Regions from separate parts of the Homo sapiens genome. Here all the other regions are linked to region 3. The links are contacts of gene promoters, found by promoter capture Hi-C in human tissues and cell types (Jung and others, 2019). All regions are on one chromosome and are shown on one strand. Each heading gives the region's core, a stretch centred on a gene start or on the middle of the fragment in contact. The rest is flanking DNA. Distances are from core to core; before and after follow the strand shown. Region 1 overlaps PLAAT3 (phospholipase A and acyltransferase 3). Region 2 holds the start of ASRGL1 (asparaginase and isoaspartyl peptidase 1). Region 3 holds the start of CHRM1 (cholinergic receptor muscarinic 1). Region 4 overlaps RTN3 (reticulon 3). Region 5 holds the start of LOC124902684 (a long non-coding RNA gene). Region 6 has its middle 39 kb from the start of PLAAT5.

Region 1 (4,521 bases), core at 352-2,851, 670 kb before region 3:
GAAGGTGAAGGGGAAGCAAGGCAGGTCTTATATGGTGGCAGGAGGCGGGGGAGTGCCACACTTTTTTTTTTTTTAGATGGAGTTTCGCTTTTCTTGCCCAGGGTAGAGTGCCATGGCACAATCTCGGCTCACTGGAAACTCCACCTCCCAGGTTCAAGTGATTCTCCTATTTCAGCCTCCCGAGTAGCTGGGATTACAGGCACCTGCCACCACGCCCGACTAATTTTTCTATTTTTAGTAGAGATGGATTTTCATCATATTGGTCAGGCTGGTCTTGAACTCTGGACCTCGGGAGATCCACCTGCCTCAGCCTCCCAAAGTGCTGGGATTACAGACATGAGCCACCATGTCCGGAGTGCCACACTTCTAAACCATCAGATCTTGTGAGAACTCACTCATTATCATGAGAACAGCATGAGGGAAATCTCGCTCATGATTCAGTCACCTCCCATATAGTCCCTCCCCTGACACATGGGGATTACAGTTTGACATGAGATTTGGGTGGGGATACAGAGCCAAACCATATCACTCCTTATGAGAATCTAATGCCTGATGATCTGTCACTGTCACCCGTCACCCCAGAAGGGACCATCTAGTTGCAGGAAAACAAGCTCAGGGCTCCTACTGATTCTGCATTATCGTCAGTTGTATGATTATTTCATTATATATTACAATGTAATAATAATAGAAATAAAGTACACAATAAATGTCATGTGCTTGAATCATCCCGAAACCATCCCTCCCCACTGCCGAGTCCATGGAAAAATTGTCTTCCACAAAACCAGTCCCTGGTGCTAAAAAGGTTGGGGACCGCTGCTGTAGAGGGACCAAGGTGGCATCTGAGGACGAAGCTCTGTTTTGATGTGTTTTTTATGCCGTGACTTTGTATGCAACACACTCAACTCTTTTTTTTTTTTTTTTTTTTTTTTTTTGACAGAGTCTCGCTCTGTCGCCCAGGCTGGAGTGTAGTGGCGCGATCTCGGCTCACTGCAAGCTCTGCCTCCGGGTTCACGCCGTTCTCCTGCCTCAGGCTCCTGAGTAGCTGGGACTACAGGCACCTGGCACCACCCCTGGCTAATTTTTTGTATTTTTAGTAGAGACGGGGTTTCACTGTGTTAGCCAGGATGGTCTCGATCTCCTGACCTCGTGATCCGCCTTCCTTGGCCTCCCACAGTGCTGGGATTACAGGCGTGAGCCACTGTGCCCGGCCGCAACACACTCAACTCTTAAGCGTAAAGCTCCTGGGAAGAGTGCAGGTGTTTGGGCAGAGAGACTTGGTTATGAATCCAGTTTCCATTCTTCAGCCTTGATTTCCTTTTTTGCAAACTGAGGATATGAATACTTAACTTGGAGAACTCTTGTGAGAATTCCTCACCCTTCTCTTAAGCCTTTAACTTAAACTGGGGTATAACATAAGTATTGTAAAATGTACAAGCATAGTAAAGTATACAGTCAGTGAATTAAAAAAAACCATCCATGTAACAGTGCCCCAGATCCACATCTAGAACATTCCCACTGTGCCACTTACCCTGAAAGGCTCTCTCATGCTTCTACAATATGCCTCCCCACGCCTCGCCCAGGCAACCATCATTCTAGCTTTTCCTGCCATAGATGAGTTTTGCCTGTTCTAGAACTTCATGGAAGAGGTATCACACGGCCCGTGCTCTTTTGTGTCTGGCTTCTTTTAGCCAACATCATGCCCATGTGAGTCATCCATGCTGCTGTGAGTAGCAGGAATTCTTTTTCACTGCTGTGTATTTTCTGTTATATGAATATGCTACAATTTAGCATCCATTTTTCTGACATCAGACTCATTGCAGGTTTTGACTGCTATGAATAGAGCTGTTATAGACACTCTTTTTTTTTTTTTTTTTTTTCCGAGACGGAGTCTTGCTCTGTGGCCCAGGCTGGAGTGCAGGGGCATGATCTTGGCTCACTGCAACCTCCACCTCCTGCTTTTAAGCGAGTCTCCTGCCTCAGCCTCTGGAGTAGCTGGGATTACAGGCACGCACCACCATGCCCAGCTAATTTTTGTATTTTTAGTAGAGATGGGATTTCACCATGTTGGCCAGGCTGGTCTCAAACCCCTGACCTCAAGTGATCTGCCTGCCTCGGCCTCCCAAAGTGCTGAGATTACAGGCGTGAGCCACCGCGCACGGCCCTTGAACATGTCTTTTGCATATCGTTTTAATTCTAACTAGTGGCCTCACCCTATCAGTAGTAACCAGAGTAGATGTCATCTTCCCCACCCTGAGCCCCTTACCCATGTACCCCCACCCCCTCCTCTTCCTTTCATAAGCACTTTGCTCCTCAAATTCCCCACCTCCTTCTGTATTGTCATCTTCTCCCTTTCAACTGGATCATTCGTATTGACATAGAGACAGCTGTAATATATCCCGTTGATCAAACGCCCGGCCTCACATCCTTCTCTGCTTAACGCCCTACAGAGCAGATCTCATTACAGCTTTGTCTGCCTGGCCACCTCCGGTTCCTCGCTTCCCATTCTGCCTTCCATCCCCTATACCCACACTTTCTTTTTTCTTTTTCTTTTTTTCTTTTTTTTGAGATGGAGTTTTGCTCTCAGACTCTCTTTTTTTGCCCCCCTGACAGAGCAGTTCTCAAGGGTAGGGAAAAGCTTCCACATCTTGCCAAAGCTTAAAGCCAAGTCCCATCACAGCTGACTTGGCTTCTCTGCAGCATTTGATGTGAGTGACCTTCCTGCTCTCCACCTGGCACCTGACTTTCTTCCTCTCCCTCTGGGCCCTTCTTTTTTGGTCTCTTGTGTGGGCTCCTCCTCCTCTCTCATTTCCCTAAATCGAGCTCAGATGACCTCATTGGATTCCTTAGCTTCCAATACCTTCTATTTGTCAATATCTCCTAAGCCCAAACCCTCAATTTACATCCCCCTTCAGCTTCAGACTTGCATAACCTCTTGACTACTTGGTAACTCCACTTGGGTGTCTACCTGGCATCTTGAACTTGATCTGCCCCAAATGGGAGGCTCCAGTGGAAGACACCATTCAGCTGCTCAGGCCTAAAGCCTAGGAGTCATTCTCCGTTCCTTCCAACCCATGTCTAATCTATCAGGGAATCCTGTTGGCTTTATCTCTGAAACAGACCCCAGCTCTGACCACTTCTTACCATCCCCACTGCAGCGCCCTGGTATGAGCAACCACCCTCCCTCGCCTGGTGGCAGTGTCACTTCTGGCTGGTCTCTCTGCCTCTTGCCACTCACGGCCAGTTCCTCATTCATGGGCAGGTGGTGTGATTGTTTGAAAGCGTAAATCAAGGGCCAGGTGCGGTGGCTCATGCCTGTAATCCCAGTATTTTGGGAGGCTGAGGTGGGTGAATCACCTGAGATCAGGAGTTTGAGACCAGCCTGGCCAACATGGCGAAACCCCGTCTCTATTAAAAATACAAAAATTAGTCGGGCATGGTGACGCGCCACTGTAGTCCTATCTACTTGGAGGCTGAGGCACGAGCAGGAGGCGGAGGCTGAGGCACGAGCAGGAGGCGGAGGCTGCAGTGAACCAAGATTGCACCACTGCACTCCAGCCTGGGTGACAGAGTGAAACCCCGTCTCAAAAAAACAAACCAAAACCAAACCAAAACAAAGCATCAAAGTCTACACTGTGGCCTGTAGGGCCCGGCCTGGTCTGGCCTGGTCTGTGACTTTGGGCCTCGTCTTTCTCTTCTCCCCTCCTGGGTCTCTAGACTCCAGCAACGTTGGCCTCCTTGCTGCCTCTTGGCATGCCAAGCTCTCTCCTCCCTGCAGACTTCATTCCTGCTGTTCCTTCTGTTCTAGATGCTTCATCATTCAAGCTTCAGCAAAGATGCCTTTTCCTTGGGGTGGCCTCCCCAGCCTGAGCAACAGCAGCCTCTGCTGGTCATCCTTGCCATGTCACTCCACTCTGTCTTTCCATAGTGTCTGTTGGTACCTGCAAGTATCTTATTTTGTGTATTTGTTCATTGTCAGCGTCTTCTCAGTAGCATGGGAATTGCTTGAGGGCAGGCCTGCTGTCCAGATCACGTCACTGACTTCAGCACCTTGGACAAGGCCCGGCACCCAGTAGGGCCTCAGTATTGATTGGCTGCACTGAGCAGGTGTGTGTGGTAGATAGAGGGTTGGGGAAGGCATGACAAGCACCCGGGTGGACAGGTGGACAGGTGTGTCACAGACCATCAGGTCAGTGATACTCCTTCAAAGGAAAAGATGCTTCTACCTGCATCTCACTTGAGTTTCACAGGAGTCATGTGGGATAGATGAGGCAAGGAGGACTGACCTTCTGCTGCTGAGAAAACTGTAGAAATTAGAGCTGGAAGGAAGCTTATAAACTTGCTGAAGTGCCTGTCCTGTGCCAGACACTGGTGAAAGCATGTTTTCTGGCCAACCCCTTTAATCCTCACAGCTGCCTGTGCAGTAGGGACTATTTTTGTTTCTATCCTACAAGGAATGGGGGACTCAGAGAAGTTAAGAAACTTACCCAAGGTTGCATAATGGTAAGGGGTGCAGGCAGGACC
Region 2 (4,254 bases), core at 1,621-4,120, 580 kb after region 3:
CACTATTAGGTCTCATTTTAAATTCAGATGAACTTAATTTTATTTTCAGAGACAGAGTCTCACTCTGTCACCCAGGCTGGAGTGCAGTGGCGCAGTCTTGGCTCATTGCAGCCTTGACCTCCTGGGGCTCAAGGAATCTTCCTACCTCAGCTTCCTGAGTAGCGGCGGCTACAGGCTTGTGCCACCACGCTCAGCTGATTTTTGTATTTTTTTTTTTTTGTAGAGATGGGGTTTTGCCATGTTGCCTAGCCTGGCATTGAACTCCTGAGCTCAAGTGATCCGCCCACCTCAGCTTTCCAAAGTGCTGGGATTACAGGCGTGAGCCACTGCACCGGTCTCAGGAAGAATTACACAATTTTTCACAAGTGTTAAAGAGTGCTGCGTAAAGGGGACAGAACAAGAGTAAATATTTGATGATTAATTAAGATTTCCTGAAATTCTTTTCCCTGACAGATGGGTGGTATAATTCCAGGAAGTATTTCAATCTCTAGCCTAGATCTTAGGTTTGCCATTTTAAAACAAAGAGATGAATGTCTTCCACCAAGTTAATCTGTTTATGCCTTAGTCTGATCTGAGAAATGAGGATAATAATTATGCCTAACTTATACCTAACTCATTTAACTCAACTGAGTTTAAGTGATTAACTCATAAGTGAATCATTTAATGTTCATTATGAGTTAACTTGAGTTAGTTTAACACAAGTTAACCAACTTAAGAGAGTTACATGATCAACTCATTTAATGTTCAGATTCAATAAATCAAGCAAATTTCTTAGACCACTGCCTGATACATGGTAGATACTCATATTAGCTATAATGATTAGTATTCCAAAAAAGGGTGGACTGAGTGAAAGAAGCGAAACACAAAGGAATACACTCTGCACTCCAAAGTTAACCTGAAAACTTTGGAACCTTGTCGGGGGAGGTAGGACATGCCTCATTATTCCCTCCTCCCTTTTGGAATTCAGGCCCAGCTGACCAGCACTAACATTAAAACAGATCTTAAGACTGACAAAGCAGACTTTGTAGCAATAAGATACCAAATTCCAGCGGGACTCTAGTATGACATCACATGACAGATAGCAAGCCCTGAAAGTGAAGTATTTTACCCCAAATTACGTTTCTTCGCCATATCTTGAAATAGTCCTGCAAAGCTAAAGCTATCTCTTGTGGGGAAAATCTACATTCTGAAGAGAATCCCCTTCCTTTTCTAGGCCTTTTTCCTGATTCAGGAGAGAATCAACTCTGATAAGAAACATTTACAATTTATTCTCTCAATAGACTGCTACCTGGAGACTTCCTCTGCCTAAGGGAAATCTTGGTCTCCTCAACCTCTTATCTTAATGCAGACATTCCCTTCTTTTTTCAGTTTTTTTTTTTTTTTTTGAGATAGTCTCGCTCTGTCGCCCAGGCTGGAGTGATCTCGGCTCACTGCAACCTCTGCCTCTCAGGTTCAAGCTATTCTCCTGCCTCGGCCTCCCGAGTAGCTGGGGTTACAGGCTCCTAGCACCACGCCTGGCTTTTTTTTTTTTTCTTTTGTATTTTTAGTAGAGGTGGCTTTTCACCTGTTAGCCAGGCTGGTCTCGAACTCCTGACCTCAGGTGATCCACCCGCCTTGGCCTCCCAAAGTGCTGGGATTACAGGCGTGAGCCACCGTGCTAAACCGCCTTCTATTAATTCTATCTGCAGCCACAAGTCCTTATATAATCCAGACATTCCCTTCTGTGGATTCCAGGTGTTTGGACAAAACTTTAAATCAATTGTTCATCAGAAAATCTTTGAATCTTAACTATGACCTGGAAACCACTCCCCCTCCCCCAGTAGTCTCACCTCTCCAGATGGAACCAATGTATGTCTTGTATGTACTGATTGACATCTTATGTCTCTCCAGAAGCACACATTCTCAGGATTTCCCAAGAGCTGTATCAGAGGCCATTGGTCACTCATATTTGCCTCAGTATAAATCTCTACAAATATTTTAGCGTTTGACTCTTTTCAGCACAGGTAGAAAAATTAAATATTGTTTCTTTTTTACATACTTAGTTTCACCCCAAAGCTCATTAGATTCCCTAACACTATGTAGGTTCTATTTATTCTGAAGAAGGAGCTTGACCTGACTCACATTATTTACTAGCTGAAAGGCACATTTACCTGCGTTGAACTCGGGATCGTCTTCCAGGGCGACGACAGCTCCCTCTACGGCATCCACGGCGCTCCCGCCCTCCCGGAGGATGCCGTAGCCCACGGTGGCGGCTCTGACCATGCCCTGGTGCACTCGCTCCTTCCGATCCTTGGAGATGGGACCGGCTCCGCCGCCGTGGACCACTACGATGGGATTCATGTCGGCGGATCCTAGGCAGCAGGAAGGCGAAAGCGTCGTCCAAAGCCAGCCCAAGGAAGCCGCGCGGGTACAAGGTCCTCGGGAGACCCTGTGGGGACAATGCCCAGTCTCTGTTCTGAACGGCTGGGTTCGCAGCTGGGGGTGGGTAGGGGCGGCTCGGTCGAGCTTGGTACGAAAAGCCCAGGGGCCCGGCGCCCTCCCGCGTTCCTCTCCGCCCCCGGCCCGGACCTGCTGGGGGTCTCAGTTTCCCCGGGGACGTTAACCCGCGCCCACCGCCGCCCGCCTCCAAGCCCCGGCGCCGAAGGAGGATGTCTATTTCGCCTTCGGGAAAATGTCTATTTTCGTTTATTTCATTCGCCCTCCCGCGTCTCGGGCGGCTGCTCCGGGAGGGCCGCCGACTTACCCAGGGCACCGCAGGACGCGGACGCCGAGACCTCAAGCTGGGTCGAGCCAGCCCCGCAGCCGCCCGGTACCGCCGCTCCCCGACGCCGGCTCGAAACCGCTCAGCCCGCAACCGCTCTGGTCACAACGGTTCTGCGCCTGCGCACGAGGGCGGGACCGCCGCACGGCCCAGTTCCCATAAAGCCCCGAAGGCCGGCTGGCGCGCACCTGTCTCACTCCTCTCAAGAGTCTACGCTCTTGGCCGGCCCGAGCTTCCTGGTGGCACGCGGGGAACCTCCTGCTCCTGACCAGGCTAGGGGCTGGGTGGTTGGGTTGGTGGCGAGAAGCGTGAAGTGGCATGCCACGATTTTGTAATTGCAGATTGAAAAGCAACGCTAGGCTGTGCGCAGTGGCTCATGCCTTGTAATCCCAGCACTTTGAGAGGCCGAGGCGGACGGATCACCTGAGGTCGGGAGTTCGAGACCAGCCTGACCAACACGGAGAAACCCTGTCCCTACTAAAAACACAAAATTAGCTGGGCGTGGTGGCGCATGCCTGTAATCCCAGCTACTCTGGAGGCTAAGGCACGAGAATCGTTTGAACCTGGGAGGCGGAGGTTGCGGTGAGTGGAAATCGCGCCATTGCACTCCAGCCTGGGCAACAAGAGTGAAACTCCGAATCAAAAGAAAAAAAAATTATACTGGGACAATGGGCATAAACAGGGACAGATCCAGGCAAACTGTGATTGATCTCCTGTGGATAGGAGAGTCCTTTCCCTTCTTGTTTACCCACAACTGATAACATATTTTACCACTCTTGGGAATTCCCTTTACTCCTGTTTTACCTTCGTTTCCTGCCTTAAGGCCCAGTTTAAATGAACCCCTCCTGCAAAGCCTTCTCCCTGGCACCCCACTAAGGATCAGTCATTCCCTTTCTAGTGACCTATTGTTAGAGATTACCACAAATTTATTGGCTTCAAACAACACACATTATCTTACAGTTCTGGTGGTCAGAAATTCAAACTGGGTCTGCAGGGTTGAGTTCCTTCGGGAAGCTCCAGAAGAGAATCTGTCTTTTCTTGCTTCTACAAGCTGCCTGTATCCTTGGCTCATGGCCTCATCCTCCATTGCCAAAGCCAACAGCCTAGCATCTTTAACTCTCTCTCCCTCTGGCCTGTTTCTGCTGCTACGTCACTTCTCTCTCTGTCACCATCATCACGATTTTCTTTTCTGACTCTGACTCTCCTGCCTCCTTCTTAAAGGAAGTCCCTTGGGATGACATTGGGCCCACCCAGATAACCCAGGATAATCTCCCTTTCTTACAATTTCTATTCTCATCTGCAAAGTCCCTTTTGCCATGTGAGGAGTGTTCACAGGTGGAGATTCGGATGTGACACCTTTGAGGGCCGTTATTCTGTCTCCCACACTCACCTCTTGGAAGAGGGTTATTTTAGCACGTCTCAACTGGTCGTGAGCCTAGTTGTGTCATCATAATACAGCTCACCATCATTTGGTTTCAGCTATTTATAGGAAC
Region 3 (4,336 bases), core at 1,534-4,033:
ACCCTTCTTGTCACTGATGAAGAAACTGAGACCTAGAGAGGGGGCCTAGCTTGCTCAGGCCGCTTCAACTAGAAAAAGGCCAAGCTGAATTCGCATTCAGGGCACTCTCCTCTTGCACAGTAAGGGGGCCGAGACTGGGGCCGAGCCGCGCAAGGGCGACTCCACGTTCCCTTGGTGGCCTGGAGGACTGAATTCTCGACCAGGCGACCAAAAATAACAACCAGCAGGAGCCGAGACCCGAGAGTCAGACCCCACCCAACCCAGCCAGAAATGAGGGAGAACTGGAGGGGGTCGCGCGGGGGCGGGGCCAAAGCCCCACGTGCGCCGCCTGCAGCCGCTTCAAGAAGCCCTTTGTCGCGAGCAGCCGCGTTCGTGCCGCACTCGGAGGCTTAAAATAAAGACAATGTTCCCAGCCTCCCTGCGGCTAAATCGGGCGCGAGTGCGGGGGTGGTGAGCGAGCCGGGCGGGAGCGCTTCTCCAGGCCGTACCTCTCTTCTCCCCTCCTGCCTCAGTTTCCCCATCTGATAAGGGTGAGCTAGCCAAGTCTGGGCGGGGACGTCAGAAGAGTGATACAGTGGTGGGGGTGGCGGGGGGCGTCATCCCCCTGCGTCCGCGACTGCACAGACTTCAGAAGAAAGCCGCGTGGGACAGAGGGGGGCACTCAGGAGGAGGCAGGGGAAAGCTGGACACCCTCCCCACCCGCCCACAAAATAAGTGTTTTTATTTCTAAAGGGACGTGTGCAGAGGCGGTGGGAGAAGAGAAAAGGGAGACCAAGGAGACTGGGGGGAGGTGGCAAAGAGGGAGCCTGATTCAGATTCGGAAATGGATGTTGAGCGTGGAGGCCTAACACCCCCACACTCAGCCACGTGTACGCGCACAAGTACACGCAGCCCCACCGCGCCGCCCAAGCCGCAGCCGCAAACCCAGGGCAGCCCAGCAGGGGGCATCCCGAGTCCGCGCCCAAGGGTAGGGACTGGTCAAGTTCTGACCCAACCCTGACCGGCTGGGTGACCCTGGGATGGAAAGGGGATGCTCACTTAGATTTCTCTCCAAGCTGCAGCGTCTGCTTGACTTCAGCAGGGAGGAGGACTGGGTGCCTGCTGGAACCCCAGCTGGCTTTGAGAAGCACAGATGCCCCCACATGTACCTGCCACGTGTGCCCACCAGTAGCTGCTGACCAAACCCCAGGAACTCCAGTTTCAGCTCCACTTGGCTCCATTGGCCAACTGGGCTCCTGGGTGAGAAAGCCCCAGGTTACCCTCAGGCACCAGCATTGGCGGGGTTGTGGGGGCGGGGGGCGGCGCTTGGTGGGGAAATGAGTAGGGGAAACCCCTGCCCCAGACTCCAGAGCCCTGGGCTTAGAGCCAAGTGACCTGAGCCCAAACACCTGCCCACCACATGCTAATCATACCTCTGCTCTTCAGATTTCTCACCTACAAAATGGGGATAATTGATGCTCCCATTCCTTCCCACCTCTCACCCCAAGACTTCGACACAGCCCAGTGGGCAAAGAACACAGCAGCCCCAGAAGGCAGTCCCTGCAGCCTCCAACTCTCCTCCCCAGTCAGCTCCCGGGGAGGTCTCTAGGGCCAAACAGAGGCGGTGCAGGACCCACATCTCTAGGGCAAACGGCCCCCCAGGGGTTCTATCTCTGAGGAAGCTCAACACAGAAGTCCAGACCAGCCTGGCAGGGAGGGATGCTGGCCTCACCCAGTAGGGCTGAGGGAGATTGGGAGGAGGGCTCATCTCCTCCCAGGTACACACCTGTGAGCCCTGAGTGGGAGTCAGGGGAGACAGAGCTTGACAAGCTGGGAGGAGAGCTGTCTGTCTGCCTGTCTGTCTTCCAAGTGGAAGCTTGGGGTGGAGCAGGCAGGTAGAGGCTGCCTCACTTGTCAGAATTAGCAAGTTCCACAGTTGGGCAACACTCAGCCACACATCAGATACAGACACACGTGTGCACACGCGTCCTGCCTCCAGACTGATAGGGTCACACCTGCACTTACACAGGCTGCATGGTGACATGAGTACACAGGGACACACATATGCAAGGCACTCAGCCGCACATGGGGCAGGCACCTGGCCCTCTACTCATCCCCGAAAAGCAGACACCCATATACCCTCACAACAGGCTATGCATAGCCCAATGCTAGCGCACACAGCCCAGCATGCGGGCACGTTCACTCAGCCCCCGGGCGGGTGCGCCAGCCCTCTGGGTCTGTTCCAAGTTGGAGCCTCTCACGTGAGGCCCAATGTGTCATTTCCAAACAGAAGGAATCTAGCTCTCTCACAGCAGGGAGGAAGAGCAGGGTGTGTAGTTGGGTGGGTGGGTGCGTGGGCATGTGCAGGGGGGAGGGCGTGTGTGCGAGGGAAGCAGGCATGTGAATACCAGGGCATGTGTGTTGGGGCATGGTGCACAGGGGCTGGGGGCTCTAAGGTTGGGTGGGGGGAGGAGCCCAAGGAAACAGTGTGCCTTTGTGAGGGTGTGTGTGCCGCCGGGTCTGTGCAGTGGGTGTGGGTGTTTGTCTCCCTGTATCCGCCTTCTCTCCCGTCCGGGACTTTTAGCCTTCCTGGGCTCGCCTTCCTCATGTCCTTTCTCCTCCCTCTTGGGGCTCAAATTGGGTGCCCTGGTGAAGGAGGGGGGCACACTCCAGAACCTAGTCCAACCCCAGACGCTGCCTGAGGCTTCCCTCCAGCTCCCCTCCCTTCCTTTTCTCCCTTTCCTCCCTCCCTCTCTTTCCCTTTCTCCCTCCCCGCTAAGGCTGGCGTGCCAGGGGGTGGGACATGCCAATCACTGGCTGTGCCTCTCCCGCTGCCAGCACAGGGCGCAGCTCCCCCTGGGAGCCAGGTGTTTGGGTCCCTGGAGACGCCGCAGGCCCCCAGGGAGGCAGTGGGGCTGAGGACCCTACAGACCCCTCTTCAGCCCCGTGGTGAGTACATTTGGGAGGGCTTGGGAGGGGCTGCACTAAGGTAGAGGGTAGGAGGGTCCTGGGGAGCGGGGGAGGGCAGGGATCAGGATGAGATGGAAATAGGGATGGACTCACAGAGATAGGAGGAGGCCAGGGAGGGGTCTAGAGGGCAAGGGGGCTCTGTAGCATTGAACACTGACTGCTCCAAACACTCGGCCTCCTGGCTTTGAGTGGATATAGCTGATGTTTTTCTGGGCTTCTGCTGGCAGAGGAGATGGAGATCCCCCTCAGGAAACTGGACCTGAGGCCCAGAAGGGATTAGGCTGCCTGGTAGCAAGCAGAACCCCCAACACCCTAGGGGCAGAGTGGGAAGGGCAAAGGGCCAGGAAGCAGCCCTTGCCACCAGCATCCTGTGGGAGGTTGACCCCCATCTTGATGGGGGTGCCAGTCCCAGAACCTCCTGTCCTCCCTCAGGGCACCCTGAAACCCACCACCCCCGTCCACCTCAGCTCCCCCAAGATGGACTGAATCAGGCTGCTGGCCAGATAGAGAAGCTAGAAGCCAAGGTGGGTGTCAGGCCAGAAGCCAGCAGGAGACCAGGCAAAGAGCCCCAGGGCTCTTTGGGGACAAATGGGCATGTGGGTGGCCACACTAGCCAGGGAAGGTGGCCCTGACGTGCGCAGGGGCCCAGAGGACCCTCCTTATGTTTCTAGTATCTTGGGCTCCCGCAGGGTGGGTCTCAGTCCTATATCCAGGCAATGCATGGATACCAATGGGCACCCACGCCAGGTACTCACCCCAGTGCCCGCAGACTGCACAACATGGGGATGGGCTAGGGGCCAGGAACTCTGATGCTTGTAGAGTTGTCAGCTCCTGGGCAGGCCAGCTGGGGAGGGGGTCGTCAGCTCTCATTAGGTCATCCAGACATGTGCAGCTTAGAGGTTATCAGAGCCAATGGAGAGGGGTTCACATCTTTGCACAAAACACACCTGCAGCTCCACCCAGACTGACCCAAGACCCCTGCCCAACTGGCTGGAAGGAGTCAGGCAGTCTCCAGTAGCCAGACAGTCTCCTTTCTCAGGGTAATCAGCTGTTCAGTGGGCTGTCAGATGAGAGTTCTCTGCCCTCTGACCTCAGCCACCAGGCAAGCTGCAGTCGCTATCGCGGCTGAGATATGAAAGGGAAGGAGATAGTGAAATGGGCTGCAGAAGATGTGGGTCTTGGCTCGCAGCTGACAGCTGGCGGTTGGAGTTCTGAGAACTGGATTCTGAAGTGTAATGGGGAGTCCAAAGTGTCAAGAAGGGGCTAACCAGAGGTCATGTCAGACCTAGAAAGGAGGCTTTCTATTGTATGGAGGGACTGAGGCTGAGAAAGGGAAAGGGACATGCTCATGGTCGGAGAAGGGATATGTAGGGATCCAGCTGGGGCT
Region 4 (4,256 bases), core at 130-2,629, 810 kb before region 3:
GTTCAAGCGATTCTCCTGCCTCAGCCTCCCAAGTAGCTGGGACTACAGGCGCGTGCCACCACGCCCGGGTAATTTTTTGTGTTTTTAGTAGAGACGGGGTTTCACCGTGTAAGCCAGGATGGTCTCGATCTCCTGACCTCATGATGTGCCTGCCTCGGTCCTCCCTCCTGACCTCATGATGTGCCTGCCTCGGTCCTCCCAAAGTGCTGGGATTACAGGCGTGAGCCACTGTGCCCAGCCTTTTTTTTTTTGTATTTTTAGTAGAGATAGGGTTTCACCATGTTGGCCAGGCTGGTTTTGAACTCTTGACCTCAAGTGATCCACCTGCCTCGGCCTCCCAAAGTGCTAGGATTATAGGCGTGAGCCACTGAGCCCAGCCCTGATTATTTAATCTTAAAACAACCTTGTATCCTGTATATCCTGTAACAAACCCTAATTAGCCTTGATGCATTCATTATCTTATTATGTTGCTGGTATGATCTGCTAATATCTTCTGAAGGATTTTTCATTTACGTTCATGAATAATATTAGTCTATAATTGTATTTGCCATGTCTTTGTCCAGTTTTGGTATTACTCTATACATATGTATTATATATGACATATATACTAGTTTATAAATTGGGAAGTATTCTCCTCTCCTTTTTCCTTATATGCTTCGAAGAATTCTCCAGTGAAAACTCTGGGCCTGGAATTTTCTTTGTGGAAAGAGTTTTGATACTGAATTTAATTTCTTTAATATAAATTGTGTTAGCATTAAGTAGCATTTTTCAAGGATTTTGTCCATTTCTCTAAGTTGATAAATCTGTTGGCATAAAATTGTTCATAATAATCTACTGTTCTTTTAATATCTGTAGGATCTGAATGGAAAACCCTTTTTTCATGCTTGATATTGGTAATCTGTGCTTTTTTTTTTTTCTTGTCCAGTCAAGAAATAATTTTGGCCAAAAGTGGCTCACACCTATAACCTCAGCGCTTTAGGAGGCCAAGGTGGGAGGATCACTTGAGGCCAGGAGTTCGAGACCAGCCCGAGCAACATGAGACCCCATTTCTACAAAAAATTTTTAAAAATTAATAAAGTATGATAGTGCGTGCCTGTAGTCCCTAGATGCCTGCCTGTAGTCCTAGCTACTTGGCTGAGGCAGGAGGATCGCTGAAGCCCAGGAGTTTGAGATTACAATGAACTATGATCATGCTACTGCACTTCAGTCTGGGTGACTGAGCAAGACCCTGTTTCCAAAAAAATAAAAAATAATTTTGTTGAACTTTCCAGGAACCAAATTTTGGCTTTGTTAATTTTTTCTATTGTTTGTTTTTTTATTCCATTGATTTCAGCTCTTTTTTTTTCTTTCTACTTACTGGGTTTACTTTGCTCTTCTTTTTCTAGATTTTCAAGTTCGAACCTTAGATCACTGTTTTAGATTTTTGTCTTTTCCAATATAAGCATTTAAAGCTATATACATGGCTGGGCGCAGTGGCTCAAGCCTGTAATCCCAGCACTTTGGGAGGCCAACGTGGACGGATCACAAGGTCAAGAGATCGAGACCATCCTGGCCAACATGATGAAACCCCATCTCTATTAAAAGTACAAAAATTAGCTGGGTGTAGTGGCGCACGCCTGTAATCCCAGCTACTCAGGAGGCTGAGGCAGGAGAATCGTTTGAACCCGGGAGGCAGAGGTTGCAGTGAGCCGGGATTGTGCCACTGCACTCCAGCCTGGTGACAGAGCGAGAGTTCATCTCAAAAAAATAAAAAATAAAAAATAAATAAAGCTATATAATTTCCCTCTCAGCACTGTATTCCACAAGTTTGATTTATTTTCATTGTTCAGTTTAAGTGATTCAGTTTAAATCACTTAATATTTTTCTTGTGATTTCTTCTTTTATCTATAGATTAGGTAAAACTGTCTTAATTTCCAAATATTTGGGAATTTTCCTAGATGTTGTCTTCATCATAGATATCTTCATTAATTTAAAGCTTAAATTCATTATGGCCTTAGAACATATTTTGTATGATTTAAATCCTTTGAAATTTGGCCAGGCACAGTGGCTCACATCTATAATCCCAGTACTTTGGGAGGCCAAGGTGGGCAGATCACTTGAGGTTGGGAGTTCGAGACCAACCTGGCAAACATGGTGAAACCCTGTCTCTACTTAAAATACAAAAATTAGTGGGCGTGGTGGTACGCGCCTGTGATCACAGCTACTCGGGAGGTTGAGGCACAATAATCATTTGAACCCGGGAGGCAGAGGTTGCAGTGAGCTGAGATCACACCACTGCACTCCAGCCTGGGAGGCAGAGTGAAACTGTGTCTCCAATAAATAAATAAAAAAAAAAATCCTTTGAAATTTGCTGAGTTGTTTTGTGGGCCTAGTAGTATATTATCGATACCAATGAATGCATACCTTATACACTTGTAAAATAATGTGTATTCTGCTATTGTAGGGAGTAGTGTTCTATAACCACCATCTAAGTCAAATTCATTGATTGTACTGTTCAGATACCTGGGTGTGTCTAGTTAATTGCTGAGAAAGAGGTATTAAATTTTCCAATTATTACAGATTGCCAATATATCTCCTTAATTCTGCCTTTTTGGGAGACAGGGTCTCACTCTGTCACCAGGCTGGAGTGCAGTGGTGTGATCATGGTTCACTGCAGCCTCCACCTCCTGGGCTCAAGCAATCCTCCGCCTCAGCCTCCTGAGTAGCTGGGACTACAGATGCATGCCACCAAACCAGTTAATTTTTGAATTTTTGTAGAGATGGGGGTCTCTACAAAAAAACTCCAGGGTAGGGTTATGTTGGGTTAAGGGTTATGTTGCCCAGGCTGGTCTCAAACTAGTCTCAAGTGATCTTCTCACCTTGGCCTCCCAAAATGTTGGGGTTACAGGCATGGGCCATTGCCCAGCCAATTCTGTCAATTTTTGCTTTGTGTATTTTGAAGCCATTATTAGGCACATACACACTTATAACTGTCAAGACTTCCTGGTATCTTTTATCATGATAAGATGTCCCTTATTTATTTCTGATAAAAGCTTTCATCTTCTTATGCTTACTGTTTGCATGGCATACATTTATAAATTTTTTGGGATATCTTTTCCATCCATTTACTTTCAACCTGTGTCTTTATATTTAAATAACATCTTTTGGCCGAGCACGGTGGCTCACGCCTATGATCCCAGCACTTTGGGAGGCCGAGGAGGGTGGATCACTAGAGGTCAGGAGTTTGAGATCAGCCTGACAAACATGGTGAAACCTCATCTCTACTAAAAATACAAAAATAAGCCAGGCGTGGTGGTGAGTGCCTGTAATCCCAGCTACTTGGGAGGCTGAGGGAGGAGAATCCCTTGAACCCGGAAGGCAGAGGTTGCAGTGAGCTGAGATCACGCCACTGCACTCCAGCCTGGGTGACAGAGTGAGACTCTGTCTCAAAAAATAAATAAAAATAAAATTAATTTAAAAACTAGTTGGGCATCGTGGCATATACCTATAGTCCCAAAAAGGTGAAGTGGGAGGATTGCTTGAGCCTGGGAGGTTGAGGTACAGTGAGCTGTGTTCATGCCACTCACTGCACTACAGCCTGGGTGACAGAGCGAGACCCTGTCTCCAAATATATATATATTTATAGTACCATTACATTAAAAATGTAGAAACAGGCTGGGCATAGTGGCTCATGCCTATAATCCCAGCACTTTGGGAGACCAAGGTGGGAGGATTACTTGAGCCCAGGAGATCAATGCCAGTGTTGGCAACATAATGAGACTCTGTCTCTACTAAAAAAATAAAAAAATTAGCTAGGTGTGGTGGCATGCACCTGTGGTCCCAGGTACATGGGAGGCTGAGGCACGAGGATTGCTTGAGCCCAGGAGGTCTAGGTTGCAGTGAGTCATGATTGCACCACTGCACTCCAGACTGGGATACAGAGCCACAGAGCCAGATCCTGTCTCAAACAAACAAAAAAAAAAAAAAAAAAAAAAAGCAGAAACCTTTGCTATAGTACAGTCCATATACTCGTTTTTTTCTGTTATAATTGTCCTAAGAAATAAACATCATAACCTCTATACACGTTATTACAATTTTTGCTTTAAGCAATCCTATATATTTTAAGAAATTAAGAGGAAAAAAATAAGCCTTTCATATTCACCCAGGTGTTTACCACTTCCAATTCTCTTCATTCCTTCCTAAAGGTCTGAGTTTTTATTTGGTATCACTTTCCTTTAATCTGAAAAACTTCCTTTAGCATTTCTTGTAGTGCAGGT
Region 5 (3,922 bases), core at 751-3,250, 580 kb before region 3:
ATGTGTACTTTCACCTACTTTGGTCTATATCTCTGCCTCCCTCTTCTATCTGATAGCCTTCTAGATCACTAGAAAACTCTTCCACGGATCCTCTTTCTCTAGAGGTCAGTTTCAAATCATTCTGGAACAGAGGGTAGGATATTTAGGAGAAATACTAGGCAAGAAGAATTGACAGAACCTGACAGCCAGCTGAATAAGGGAGTCGAGGGAAAGGGGATGGATGAGTGACTCCAGTATCTTGAACCTGATGACTGGGAAGATTCTAGTGTCCTTCATGAAAAACAGAGAAGGGGCAGAGCGAGATGTGGAATAGAAGCCTATACCACCCGCCCCCCACCACAGGAACACCAGATTTTATCAACTATCTGCACACAGAAAAGCATCATCACGAGGACCAAAAATCAGGTGAGCAACTGTGGTACCTGGTTTTCACTTCATATTGTGGAAAGAGACATTGAGGAAGGCAAGAGAGACAGTCTTGAATTGCTGACACCACCCCTACCCCACCCCCTAGCAGTGGCCATGCACCATAGAGAAGAGAATCTGTGCACTCTGGGGAGGGAGAGCATGGTGACTGAAGGATTTTACATGGAACTCAGTGCTGCTCTGTCACAGCAGAGAATAAAGCCATGCTGGGCTCAGCCAGCGCTCAGGCATGGAGGGAGCATTTGAACCAGCCCTAGCCAGTGGTCAGAACTTGAGTTTCTTGGCAAGCCTAGCCACCACAGGGTGAAGTGCTCTGGGGTCCTAGGTAAACTTGAAAGGCAGTCTAGGACACAAGAACTGCAATTCCTAGGCAACTTCTAGTGCCAGGTTGGGTATACAGCCAATCAATTAGGGTGGCATGTGACCTAGGGAGATACCAGCTGGCATGGCTAGTATCATACTGAGTGGGGAAAATCTGAAAGCCTCTCCTCTAAGATTTGGGACATGACAAGGATGCCTACTGTCACCACTGTTATTCAACATAGAACTGGAAGTTCTCGTTAGAACAATTAGACAAGAGAAGGAAATAAAGGGCATCCAGACTGGAATGGAAGAAGTAAAATTATCCTTGTTTGTAGATTATATGATCTTATATTTGGAAAAACCTAAAGAGTCCACCGAAAAACTATTAGAACTGATAAACCAACTCAGTAATGTTGCAGGATACAAAATCAACATGCAAAGATCAGTAGTATTTCTATGTGTCAACAGTGAACAATCTGAAAAAGAAGTTTAAAAAGTAATCCCATTTACAATATCCACAAATAAAATCCAAGACCTAGGAATTAACCAAAGAAGTGAAATATCTCTACAATGAAACTGTGAAACAATGATGAAAGAAGTTGAAGAGGACACACAAAAAATGGAAAGATATTTCATGTTCATGGATTGGAAGAATCAATATTGTTAAAATGTCCATACTACCCAAAGCAATCTACAGATTCAGTGCAATCTCTATCAAAATACCAATGTAATTCTTCACAGAAATTGAAAAAAAAATCCTAAAATTTGTGTGGAATCACAAGAGTAGCCAAAGCTATCCTGAGTAAAAGGAACAAAACTGGAGGAATCACATTATTTGACTACCAATTATACTACAGAGTTACAGTAATCAAAACAGCATGCTACTGCCATAAAAAGACAGATAGACCAATGGAACAGAATACAGAACTCAGAAACAAATCCATACACCCACAGTGAACTCATTTTTGACAAAGGTGCCAAGCACATATATTGGATGAAAAGACAATCTCTTCAATAAATGGTGTTGTGAGAATTGGATATCCACATGCAGAAGAATGAAACTTGATTCCTATCTCTTGCCATATATAAAAATCAAATCAAGTGGATTAACAACTTCAATCTAAGACCTCAAACCATGAAACTACTTCAAGAAAACATTGGGGTAACTTTCACGTTGGTCTTGGCAAAAGTTTCTTGAGGAATACCTCACAAGCATAGAAAACCAAAGCAAAAATGGACAAATGGGATCACACCAAGTTAAAATCTTCTGAACAGCAAAGGAAACAATCAACAAAGTGTCAAGCCAACCCACAGAATGGGAGAAAACATATACAAACTACCTATCTGATAAGGGATGAATAACCAGAATATATAACAAGCTCAAATAACTCTATAGGAAAAAAATCTAATAATTTGATTTTAAAAAAGGCAAATGATCTGAATAGACATTTTCTCAAAAGAAGGCATACAAATGGCAAACAGGCAAATGAAAAAGTGCTCAACATCACTGATCATCGGATAAATGCACATCAAAATTACAATGATATATCAATTAAATGGCTTGTATCCAAAAGACAGGCAATAACAAATGCTGGAGGATGTGGACAAAAGGGAACTGCTGTGCAATGTTGGTGGGGATGTAAATTAGTACAACCACTATAGAGAATAGTTTGGCGGTTCCTAAAAACTAAAAATAGAGCCGTCATATGATCCAGCAATCCCACTGCTAGGTATATGCCCAAAAGAAAGGAAGTCAGTATATCAGAGAGATATCTGCATGCCCATGTTTACTGCAGCACTGTTCACAATAGCCAAGATTCGGAAGCAAAGTGTCTCAGCAGATGAATGGATAAAGAAACTGTGGTACATATACACAAGGGAGTAATATTCAGCCACGAGAAAGAATGAGATTCTCTCATTGGCAACAACATGGATGGAACTGGAGGTCATTATGCTAAGTGAAATAAGCCGGGCACAGAGAGACAAACATCACATGTTCTCGTTTATTGGTGGGATTTAAAAAATCAAAACAATTAAACTCATGGAGATACAGAGTAGAAGGATGTTTACCAGATGCTGGGAAGGGTAGTGGGGAGGTGGGAGGGAGGGGGAATTGTTAATGGGTACAAAAAAATAGAATGAATAAGACCTAGTATTGATATCACAACAGGGAGACTATAGTCAATAATTTAATTATACATTTAAAAATAAAAGAATATAATTGGATTGTTTGTAACACAATGGATAAATCCTTGAAGGGATGAATATCCCCCCCAATCCCCCCACAAAAAAAGATGCCATGGGTATAATCCAGAGGGTGGCAGGCTATGTGGGTTCTCAGTCTGGAGCCTGCCTAGCAAGCAGCTTCGAAATCATTACTAAGCTTAAGGGGGCAGTGGGACACGACTGCTTCTCATTCCAGTGTCTCTTTGGGTCTGATAATTTAAAGGAGGCTTGCATTTCTCAAACAGAATACTTCTTTTCTTTCTTACTTTCATATGTATGTGAAAATGTCCATAGTAAAAAGTAGAAATTCAAAACAAAAGCCATAATTAATGTTAAGCTTTTGATTCCATATCCTACTAATGGCAGGTGAGATGCATGGCTAAGGGCCTGGATGTGGGGAGCACGGTTTGCTCCTTTGGGCACCCTCCCTCCCACTGCAGTACCCTGGAATAGAAGGATGACAGGGGCTACTATGTCTACCTCAAAGACACCACCTCTTCCTCCCTTTGCAGTTGGGAGCATGGAGAAGGGACAGAGGTGATAGATTCTAGTGTGCCGTGGGACAGTCCATGGACTCCCTCCAGCTCTGCGTAGTTCTCTTGTGCTGGGGGCCTTTGTGTATGTGGTCTCCATAGAGACAGTGTGCAGGCAAAGTTCTTTCATTCCAACACTCTCTGCCACTGAGGACTCTCACCCCCCACCGCCAGAGAGGCACCTGGGTCTCCCTTTGGGCGTGTCAAAAGAAAGACAAATTAAATTGAACATAGTTTAAATGAGCAAATAATTTATGAATCAGGCAACCTGTCGAATCACAGGAGATTCAGAGACACTCCAGTGATACTGCATTGTCGAAGATGATTTATGGTCAGAAAAAGGAAAGTGATATACAGAAACAAGTGAGGTACAGCAACAGCTGGACGGGTTACAGCTTGGCATTTGCCTTATTTGAACATGATTTGAACAGTTG
Region 6 (3,972 bases), core at 502-3,001, 530 kb before region 3:
TTGTAGGATGGAAAAATTGAAAGTGCCGTTTTCTGGCTATTTGGAACCACTGTCGAGTTTGTATTGGGGTCAAGGGGTGTTGCAGAAGAAAATAAGGCATTTAGGTTTTAGGTCATGTGTGAGTTGAAGAGGTTTTTTTTCACTTGCATCCATGTGAAGAGACCACCAAACAGGCTTTGTGTGAGCAACAAGGCTGTTTATTTCACCTGAGTGCATGTGGGCTGAGTCTGAAAAGAGAGTCAGCAAAGGGAGATGGGGTGGGGCCATTTTATAAGATTTGGGTAGGTAAAGGAAAATTGCAGTCAAAGTAGGGGGGTTGTTCTCCGGCTGGCAGGGGTGGGGGTCACAAGGTGCTCAGTGGGGGAGCTTTTGAGCCAGGATGAGCCAGGAGAAGGAATTTCACAAGGTAATGTCATCAGTTAAGGCAGGAACAAGCCATTTTAACTTCTTTTGTGGTGGAATGTCATCAGTTAAGGCAGGAACCAGACATCTGGATATGTACTTGCAGGTCACAGGTGATATGATGGCTTAGCTTGGGCTCAGAGGCCTGACAGTTTTAAGTTCTTAAGAACACAGGCTAAGGGAGAAGGAGGAATGGAGGGTGGAAGCCTACCCATAGTGAAGGAGGCAAGCCCAGAGAAAAGAGAGAGTAGAGACACAGAGAGAAGGGGTGGGGGGTGCTTGCTCCCCAAGAAACATGGAGAGAAGTGGTCAGGGGGTTATTGTCCCCCAGAAAAGTGGAGAAGGGGTAGAGACATGGAGAGAAGGGGTTGGGGGTGTTCTTGCCCCCCATAAAAGTGGAGAAGGGGTAGAGAAATGGAGAGAAGGGGTCAGGGGTCAGACACCTCTGAAATGTGGGTGAATAATCAGGCAGGCATCCGCGTATGATTAAACACCAAGGGAAGACTGTCTTCCTGAGTCTGTGACCGGTGCTGGAGTTTTGGGTCCACGGATAAAATGCATCTCCTGTTTCTACAAGAAAAGGAAAGGAACTGAAATTAAGAGAAGGGAGAGATTGAAGTGTGGTGCCAAGATTGAAAGGAGAAAGAGGTTGAGGGATAGTGAGAGAGGTTGGAGAAGAGAGTAGAAAGAGGTCGCTTACTGGATTTAAAATTGGTGTGATGTTCCTTGGGCTGGTCAGTCGGAGGACCTGAGGTCATAGGTGGATCTTTCTCACGGATCAAAGAGCAGAAGGACAGGGGATTGATCTCACAAGGGAGGTCCCCTGGTCCAAGTCATGGCACCAAAATTTCACTCGCTTCTGTGTGAAGAGACCACCAAACAGGCTTTGTGTGAACAATGAGGCTGTTTATTTCACCTGGGTGCAGGCAGGCTGAGTCTGAAAAGAGAGTCAGCGAAGGGAGATAAGGGTGGGGCTGTTTTATAAGATTTGGGTAGGTAAAGGAAAATTAAAGTCAAAGGGGGGTTCTCTGGCAGACAGGAGTGGGGGTCACAAGGTGCTCAGTCAGGGAGCTTTTTGAGCCAGGATGAGCCAGAAGGAATTTCAGAAGCTAATGTCATCAGTTAAGGCAAGGACTGGCCATTTGCACTTCTTTTGCAGTTGAATGTCATCAGTTAAGGCAGGAACAGGCCATTTAAATATCACTTCTTTTGTGATTCTTCAGTTACTTCAGGCCATCTGGATGTATACATGTAGGTCACAGGGGATATGATGGCTTAGCTTAGTCTCAGAGGCCTGACATACAGGATATCACCACTGGTCCCACAGAAATACAAACTACCATCAGAGAATACTAGAAACACCTCTATGCAAATCAACTAGAAAATCTAGAAAAAATGGATAAATTCCTGGACATATACACCCTCCAAAGACGAAACCAGGAAGAAGTTGAATCCCTGAATAGATTGATAACAAGTTCTGAAATTGAGGCAGTAATTAATAGCCTATCAACCAAAAAAAGCCCAGGACCAGATGGATTCACAGTTGAATTCTAACAGAGGTACAAAGAGGAGCTGGTACCGTTCCTTCTGAAACTATTCTAAACAATAGAAAAAAAGTGATTCCTCCCTAACTCATTTTATGAGGCCAGCATCATCCTGATTCCAAAACCTGGCAGAGACACAACAAAAAAAGAACATTTCAGGCCAATATCCCTGATGAACTTTGATGCGAAAATCCTCAATAAAATACTGGCAAATCAAATCCAGCAGCACATCAAAAAGCTTATTCACCATGATCAAGTTGGCTTCATCCCTGGGATACAAGGCTGGTTCAAATACACAAATCAATAAATGTAATCCATCACATAAACAGAACCAATGACAAACACCACATGATTATCTCAATAGATGCAGAAAAGGCCTTCGATAAAATTCAACACCCCTTCATGCTAAAAACTCTCAATAAACTAGGTATTGATGGAACATATCTCAAAATAATAAGAGCTATTTATGACAAACCCACAGCCAATATCATACTGAATGGGCAAAAGCTGGAAGCATTCCCTTTGAAAACTGGCACAAGGCAAACACACCCCTTCTCACCACTCCTATTCAACATAGTATTGGGACTTCTGGCCAGGGAAATGAGGAAAGAGAAAGAAATAAAGGGTATTTAAACAGGAAGAGAGGAAGTCAAATTGTCTCTGTTTGCAGATGACATGATTGTATATTTAGAAAACCCCATTGTCTCAGTCCCAAAACTTCTTAAGCTGATAAACAACTTCAGCAAAGTCTCAGGATATAAAATCAATGTACAAAAATCACAAGCATTCCTATACACCAATAATAGATGAACAGAGAGGCAAATCATGAGTGAACTCCCATTCACAATTGCTACAAAGAAAATAAAATACCTAGGAATACAACTTATAAGGGATGTGAAGGACCTCTTCAAGGAGAACTACAAACCACTGCTCAATAAGAGAGGACACAAACAAATGGAAAAACATTCCCTGCTCATGGATAGGAAGAATCAATATCATGAAAATAGCCATATTGCCCAAAGTAATTTATAGATTCAATGCAATTCCCATCATGCTGCCATTGACTTTCTTCACAGAATTAGAAAGAAATACTTTAAATTTTATATGGAACCAAAAAAGAGGCTGCATAGCCAAGACAATCCTAAGCAAAAAGAACAAAGCTGAAGGCATCACACTACCTGACTTCAAGCTATAATACAAGGCTACAGTAACCAAAATAGCATGGTACTGGTATCAAAACAGATATATAGACCAATGGAACAGAACAGAGGCCTCAGAAATAACATCACACATCTACAAATATCTGATCTTCAGCAAACCTGACAAAAACAAGCAATGGGGAAAGGATTTCTTATTTAATAATTGGTGCTGGGAAAGCTGGCTAACCATATGCAAAAAACTGAAACTGGATCCCTTCCTTACACCTTATACAAAAATTAACTCAAGATGGATTAAAGACTTAAACATAAAACCTAAAACCATAAAAACCCTAGAAGAAAACCTAGGCAATACCATGCAGGACATAAGCATGGACAAAGACTTAATGACTACAACACAAAAAGCAATTGCAACAAAAACTAAAATTCTAAAATTGACAAATGGGATCTAATTAAACTAAGAGCTTCTGCACAGCAAAGGAAACTATCATCAGAGTGAACAGGCAACCTACAGAATGGGAGAAAATTTTTGCAATCTATCCATCTGACAAAGGGCTAATATTCTGAATCTACAAGGAACTTAAACACATCTACAAGAAAAAACAAACAACTCCATCGAAAAGTGGGTGAAGGATATGAACAGACACTTCACAAAAGAAGACATTTATGCGGCCAAAAAACATATGAAGTAAAGCTCATCATCACTGGTCTTTAGATAAATGAAAATCAAAACCACAGTGAGATACCATCTCACGTCAGTTAGAATGGTGGTCACTAAAAAGTCTGGGAACAACAGATGCTGGTGAGGATGTGGAGAAATAGGAAAGCTTTTACACTGTTTGTGGGAGTGTAAATTAGTTTGACCACTG

Evidence for each region. The method cuts DNA at HindIII sites, captures the fragments that hold promoters and counts their contacts. A contact is called where the count stands out against the background at its distance.
Region 1: a contact is called between a fragment that was not itself captured here and the fragment with the promoter of CHRM1 in region 3, in 4 of the 25 tissues and cell types used here (bladder, dorsolateral prefrontal cortex, lymphoblastoid cells and 1 more).
Region 2: a contact is called between the fragment with the promoter of ASRGL1 here and the fragment with the promoter of CHRM1 in region 3, in 1 of the 25 tissues and cell types used here (spleen).
Region 4: a fragment that was not itself captured here is called in contact with the fragment with the promoter of CHRM1 in region 3 in 1 of the 25 tissues and cell types used here (dorsolateral prefrontal cortex).
Region 5: a fragment that was not itself captured here is called in contact with the fragment with the promoter of CHRM1 in region 3 in 1 of the 25 tissues and cell types used here (aorta).
Region 6: a fragment that was not itself captured here is called in contact with the fragment with the promoter of CHRM1 in region 3 in 2 of the 25 tissues and cell types used here (dorsolateral prefrontal cortex and mesenchymal stem cells).

Annotation. Positions count from the first base shown.
Region 1 is chr11:63,592,649-63,597,169 of GRCh38, reverse strand. All of the region lies in intron 3 of PLAAT3 (phospholipase A and acyltransferase 3), which reads left to right. Among named protein-coding and RNA genes, the nearest start is that of PLAAT3, 20 kb to the left of the region's middle. The HindIII fragment of the contact is 6,558 bases long and covers 1-4,521 here.
Region 2 is chr11:62,336,064-62,340,317 of GRCh38, reverse strand. It overlaps ASRGL1 (asparaginase and isoaspartyl peptidase 1), which reads right to left and starts at 2,870. Exons shown (of 7, transcript NM_001083926.2): 1 at 2,744-2,870; 2 at 2,151-2,428. The coding sequence starts at 2,340. RefSeq lists an enhancer at 2,290-2,959. The HindIII fragment of the contact is 36,513 bases long and covers 1-4,254 here.
Region 3 is chr11:62,919,810-62,924,145 of GRCh38, reverse strand. It overlaps CHRM1 (cholinergic receptor muscarinic 1), which reads left to right and starts at 2,783. Exons shown (of 2, transcript NM_000738.3): 1 at 2,783-2,928. LOC105369333 (a long non-coding RNA gene) reads right to left here and starts at 3,986. Exons shown (of 5, transcript XR_002957251.2): 1 at 3,705-3,986. RefSeq lists enhancers at 102-161, 1,925-2,459. The HindIII fragment of the contact is 6,896 bases long and covers 1-4,336 here.
Region 4 is chr11:63,729,156-63,733,411 of GRCh38, reverse strand. All of the region lies in intron 3 of RTN3 (reticulon 3), which reads right to left. Among named protein-coding and RNA genes, the nearest start is that of ZFTA, 37 kb to the left of the region's middle. The HindIII fragment of the contact is 5,544 bases long and covers 1-4,151 here.
Region 5 is chr11:63,495,123-63,499,044 of GRCh38, reverse strand. It overlaps LOC124902684 (a long non-coding RNA gene), which reads right to left and starts at 3,577. Exons shown (of 2, transcript XR_007062702.1): 1 at 3,436-3,577. The HindIII fragment of the contact is 7,313 bases long and covers 1-3,922 here.
Region 6 is chr11:63,450,369-63,454,340 of GRCh38, reverse strand. No RefSeq gene overlaps it. Among named protein-coding and RNA genes, the nearest start is that of PLAAT5, 39 kb to the left of the region's middle. RefSeq lists enhancers at 771-1,331, 1,332-1,893. The HindIII fragment of the contact is 7,919 bases long and covers 1-3,972 here.